Linked DNA regions of Homo sapiens: region 1 is linked to region 2. Evidence: promoter capture Hi-C in human tissues and cell types (Jung and others, 2019). All regions are on one chromosome and are shown on one strand. The core of a region is centred on a gene start or on the middle of the fragment in contact, and the rest is flanking DNA. Distances in the headings are between cores, read along the strand shown. Region 1 overlaps NCAM1 (neural cell adhesion molecule 1). Region 2 holds the start of PTS (6-pyruvoyltetrahydropterin synthase).

What was found. The method cuts DNA at HindIII sites, captures the fragments that hold promoters and counts their contacts. A contact is called where the count stands out against the background at its distance.
Region 1: a fragment that was not itself captured here is called in contact with the fragment with the promoter of PTS in region 2 in 1 of the 25 tissues and cell types used here (dorsolateral prefrontal cortex).

Annotation. Positions count from the first base shown.
Region 1 is chr11:112,973,072-112,976,034 of GRCh38, reverse strand. All of the region lies in intron 1 of NCAM1 (neural cell adhesion molecule 1), which reads right to left. Among named protein-coding and RNA genes, the nearest start is that of NCAM1-AS2, 11 kb to the right of the region's middle. The HindIII fragment of the contact is 3,946 bases long and covers 1-2,963 here.
Region 2 is chr11:112,224,654-112,227,819 of GRCh38, reverse strand. It overlaps PTS (6-pyruvoyltetrahydropterin synthase), which reads right to left and starts at 1,392. Exons shown (of 6, transcript NM_000317.3): 1 at 1,294-1,392. The coding sequence starts at 1,376. RefSeq lists silencers at 460-754, 1,112-1,521. The HindIII fragment of the contact is 11,416 bases long and covers 1-3,166 here.

The sequences.
Region 1 (2,963 bases), core at 322-2,821, 750 kb before region 2:
GATTTACCTCCCAGTGACTTCAAAAGTATCTACTGTGAATATCACTAGAACACAAAATAGTGAATGATTTTTCTGGTTTCCTATTTAGATACAAAACTACCCTTAAATGCCTAAATCAATTATTGTGTGAAATGTTTATATTCTCAAAAATAATGCATATGTCTAACTTGGCTATAAAGGAATACAAATAATAAAAATATTCTTTTTATAAGAAGGAAGGCAGGCGAATGAACTGCCTTCATGACCAGTTATCTTAATTGAGTCTGACTGGTAATTTAAATTCTGATTCCAAAGCCAATTTAGTTCAAAATGACCTCAAATGGTAACCTAGGGCAGTTAACTGACTCACTTTCAATCCCTTATCTTCAAAGAAAATCACATAATGTCCCTTTTTTACTTCATTATGACAGATGGTTTTCTTTGATGAAAATTTTAAATTTTAAACGTGATGAGTAACTTTCACTTACACACACAAAAGGAAAAAAATGCTGAGAAAATAACAAATAACTCTTATTTATCATTTTCTGACATTTCAAGATTGTCTTTTGTGTCATTCCACAGGCATAAATATTACAAGTATAAACAAAAAACTTTTTGAACGTGGTCTAGAATTTTTCACAAAGCTGAATGGTATTCATCTTTCACCTCCAATTCCTAGACCAACTACATAGAATACGGGAGTTATTTCATAAATACTGGATTAAGTCAATGTTTCTAGTGGACATTTAACTACCCAACAAGTCTGAGACATGGCCACTTGCCAATGTGTTCATAAAATTGTTCTTGTTCTGATTTGCAAAATCACTGCCAAGTCCACGTCTTTCTATCAAAGAAATGTGGAATCTCAGGCCACCTTGGAATCTCTTGAGAATGCTTCAGTTCAGAAAAGTTTCCTCAAAACTCTTTAAATTGTCAATCCCTTGAAGTTGTCTGAACATTCCTCTGTTCGGGTTTTTGCCTTTGATGCACCCCTAGAGCATGTCCCTTTTCCTTTAAGAACTGCAAGCTTCTTTCAGTCTCAACGATCCTACCCTAAAACGTGCAAGATAAAAGACTTCAAAAAAGATTTTAAAAGCCCGCTTTGGACTTTAGCAATTAGAAACCCTGAAGGAGATAGGTCATCAGTGGGTTCTGAGTCTGCTCCAAAATTAAAGTCAATAGAGCCTCTGATACCACTAATTCAAACACACACACACATACATACACACACACACACACACACAAACTGTAAGCTACAGGAGGGTGGCAGCCATATGTCTCTTCTCCCATACTCCCCTCACCTCAGCAGAAGGCTCAATTTTTATAAATAGAGAGATTGAACCAGATGCACTTTGTCCTTGCATATACCAGACTTTGTTGAGGGCAGAAGCACCCTACTGAAAATAGGAGAATTAAATGAAGTCTAGACTACAGAAGAAAAAATTACCCCCAATCCATTTCTTATTCAGCTTAGAGAAAAATAGTAGTTGGACTTATACCGTGCCTGCTGCAAAATTTTGGATTCTCTTAAGTCAATCAGTCCAAAAGAAAATGTAAGTACTCATGAATATACATGGATGTCCCCCACCCAATAAACCAAGTTTCTGCACAGTCTTTCAGTGTGTGACATCCCACACTGAGCCCCACAGCTCTTCAGGGTCTCACTCTTTACTAATAGGCAGCCAGGGATCATTAGAATTTGAGGAGTTAAATGAAACAACATGAAACACAAAAGGAGATACAACAGCAAACATAATAAAGAGGAATTCAGACAAAAAGAGACAAGAAGCAAGAGAAATGTTATGAACTCCTCAGCGATATGAAAGATATTGCATCAAGAAAGAAAAAGATGCTATGCTAGCTCTTCAGAGGCCTCTTTCCGTTACTTCTTCATTCTTCATGTTTCAAAGAATCAGGGTTGCCAGGTAAGTGACTTCCAGATTAAGTGACTTCCAGATTAATGAAGTGTCACCAATATGATCTTTAGCAGCAACCATTATTTAAATACACTAAATTTTATGGCTCAACCATTATAGTGAATTGACAGATTTGATATTAACCCTATGCAAATGGAAAGGAGAATCTAGATAAACCACTTTTAATTTTTTAACTATTACTTTTGTCAAAATCAAGATCTACTAGGCTTTGCTTTCATAGGAGGTAAAACAGCTCCACAATGAAGCATGGCATTTCCAACTCAGTTGCAATTCACAGTGATCCTGAACTCTCAGAACATGAAAAATAAATGGAAAATGTGATTCTCATTAGAATCAATACTTAAATCCAACGCGAATTGTATATCCCTTCACTGTGAACTTTAGCAGAAAGAAAGGATATGGGAAAAAATTGCTGAGCTCACTATGTGCCAGACAGTTGTATAAACTACCTCATTTCATCCTCACAATAACCCTATTAGTTAGGTATTATCCCTGATTCACAGATAAATAAACTGACCGTTGGAGATTAAATAACTGGCTCAAGGTCATGAAAAGCAGGAGAGTCACAGTTCGAAATGTGGGTTTGATACCAAAGGTCCATGGGGCACCCTGTGCAGTATGCACTGCCTCCAACACCAAAAGGAGATACTAAATTCAGAAAGAAAGAAAGATAATTTATAATTATGTACCCAAACCAAAGAGCTTTCATTGGATTTCCATCTTCTTATGCCCTTGATAACAGGCCTTTAAGGCTGCTTAAAGTACACCTTTATGGAGTACTGTAAGTCCAATTCTCATATAGCAATTGCAGCTTAACTGGTGACTGGCAGCCTCTCATGTGAACAGAATGGACACTCAAATTGAAAATGACTAAACGAACATTAGAAAAGTAATCAATCACTCCTGTGCTGATCTGATAAAAACAGCACATCCAATTTGTGACATGCAGAACAAGCTTCAAAAGATTTTGCTATAGAAACATTTTTTAAAGGTCTAGAAATAAATGTATGAACACCACAGGCAATGAGGTAAGAAGACAAAACTGAA
Region 2 (3,166 bases), core at 143-2,642:
ATGTGATCCCCAGTGTTGGAGATGGGGCCTAGTGGGAGATGTTTGGCTCATGGAAGTGGATCCCTTATGAATGGCTTGGTGCCCTCCCTGAAGCAATGAGTGAGTTCTCGCTCTATTAGTCAATGGGCGAGCTGGTTGTTAAAAAAAGCCTGGCACCTCCTCTCCTCTCTCTTGCTCCCTCACTTGCCCTGTGAGTTGCCTGCTTGCTCGCCCTTCGCCTTCCACCATGAGTGGAAGGTCCCTGAGGCCTCAACAGAAGCAGATGCTGGTGCCATGCTTCTTGTACAGCCTGCAGAACCAAATAAACCTCTTTTCTTTATAAAATACCAGTCTCAGTATTCCTTTGTGGCAATGCAAAATGGAATAACACACCCCCACTTTCTCCTGCTCAGCCACTTCTTGTATTTAGAGTGCTAAAGTCTTTTGCACAAAATTTTCTCAGTGTACCCTCCACAAAATAGGCCAGATTGGAAACCCCATACAAGATCCCTGATGCATCCGTTACCTAGCACAAGCCCTGACAAGCACGAAACAAAACCTGGTTTAGCGAATGGAGGGATGAATCCTGTTAGATAGCGATGGTCATCCTCATTTCACAGACGACGATACGGAGGGCCAGAGGGTGGAGCTGGTTAGTGCGTGGTAAAATTCCTCAAAATCAACTCGTCAGTGCATGCAAGCAGTATGTATGATCGGGATTCAAATCCCAACTATGCTGCTTCGGAAACTGAACGTCTGGGCTCATTTTTTTTTTTTTTTCTCCTAGCCACTAGACCACCAGGGACTGGGTTCATCCAGTCTTTGGTAAAAAAGGGGCTAAAATTTGCCTTGTAATTACATTAGATATGGTGGCCAATGCTCCTGGCATACAAGATTAGCTAACATTTACTGAGTGTCTACGCCGCGCCAGGTACTGTGTAACATAGGCGAGTTTAACACTGCTGAGTTTCACAGCAACCCTGTGGTCTACACCAAGGGACTCCTAGGGGCAGAGACGTTTCTTCGAGTCGCAGAACCGGGTGTGGGCCCCGCACCCAGACGTGGGCCATCGCCCTCCGCAGTCGGCTCCGTTAACCATCAAGCTCCCCCACCCCTCCAGGGCTGGGGACACTCCAGCCCCCATCAGGATGCTGGAGGCCGTCCGAAGCCCCACGAAGCCGACCAGCGCGCGTCGCCCCAGCAGCCCCCGCGCCCCTCCCGGGCCCGACGTCAGCACGCCCGCCGGCCCCGCCCCGGTGACGTTCCGGGGCCCGGCGCCCACCGCCCGCCGCTGTACCTGTGTGCACACCCTACCTGTACAATCGGTGGCTCGCGCTGAAGGAGATGCGGCGGGACACTTGTGCCTGGCAGCGACGGCCACCACCTTCCGTGCTCATCTTCCCGGCGCTGTCTGCGGTGCTCGGCCGGCACCTCCTCCCGCCGCGCGGCCGGTGCCTCCTCCCACCGCGGCTGCGCAGTGCGTGCCAGACGCGCCCCTAGGAAGTGCGTCTCCGCTTCCGCTCTGGCCAATCCCGGCCTCGGGAGACAGTTAAGGGTGTCTCTCGCTATCTGAATCTCTTCGGAGAGCAAGATTTGGGATACCTAAGCATACCCTGGAGTGGTCAGGGTGGGTGGGGACCCTGTGTCCTTGATCTGTTTGCCCCGCCTGAGGTCACGCCACGTAGTTAGGGCCCGTCTGGGCACACTTTGGGTCCTGAGTGACCTCTCTGAGCCTCCTCTCCCACTCTCTCCTGTAAAGCTCCAGTGACTGGTGACTCAATCGGATGAACCCCAGGGCCACAGTCCGCTTTATAGACCAAAAGGAGCAGGAATTGAGCCAGGCGGGCGTGGTGACGCACTCCTGTAGCCCCAGCTATTGAGAAGGAGAGGGATCACTTCAGCCCAGGAGTCCAACCTGGGCAATAGAGCAAGACCCTCGTTTCTCTTTTTCTTTTTTCTTTTTAATTATTATTATACTTTAAGTTCTAGGGTACATGTGCACAACGTGCAGGTTTGTTACATAGGTATTCATGTGTTATGTTGGTTTGCTGCACCCATCAACTCGTCATTTACATTAGGTATTTCTCCTAATGCTATCCCTCCCCCAGCCCCCTACTCCCTGACAGGCACCGGTGTGTGATGTTCCCCACCCTGTGTCCATGTGTTCTCATTGTTTGATTCCCACCTATGGGTGAGAACATGCAGTGTTTGGTTTTCTGTCCTTGTGATAGTTTGCTGAGAATGATGGTTTCCAGCTTCATCCATGTCCCTGCAAAGGACATGAATTCATCGTTTTTATGGCTGCATAATATTCCATGGTGTACATGTGCCACATTTTCTTAATCCAGTCTATCATTAATGGACATTTGGGTTGGTTCCAAGTCTTTGCAATTGTGAATAGTGCCACAATAAACATACAGGTGCATGTGTCTTTAAAGTAGCATGATTTATAATCCTTTGGGTATATACCCAGTAATGGGATGGCTGGGTCAAATGATATTTCTAGTTCTAGATCCTTGAGGAATCGTCACACTGTCTTCCACAATGGTTGAACTCATTTACACTCCCACCAACAGTGTAAAAGCATTCCTATTTCTCCACATCCTCTCCAACATCTGTTGTTTCCCAACTTTTTAATGATCGCCATTCTAACTGGTGTGAAATGGTATCTCATTGTGGTTTTGATTGGCATTTCTCTGATGGCCAGTGATGATGAGCATTTTTTCATGTGTCTGTTGGCTGCAGAAATGTCTTCTTTTGAGAAGTGTCTGTTCATATGCTTTGCCCACTTTTTGATGGGGTTGTTTGATTTTTTTTCTTATAAATTTGTTTAAGTTCTTTGTAGATTCTGGATATTAGCCCTTTGTCAGATGGGTAGATTGCAAAAATTTTCTCCCATTCTGTAGGTTGCCTGTTCACTCTGATGGTAGATTCTTTTGCCGTACAGAAGCTCTTTAGTTTAATTAGATCCCTTTTGTCTATTTTGGCTTTTGTTGCCATTGCTTTTGGTGTTGTAGTCATGAAGTCCTTGCCCATGCCTATGTCCTGAATGGCATTGCCTAGGCTTTCTTCTAGGGTTTTTATGGTTTTCGGTCTGATATTTAAGTCTTTAATCCATCTTGAGTTAATTTTTGTGTAAGGTGTAAGGAAGGGATCCAGTTTCAGCTTTCTACATATGGCTAGCCAG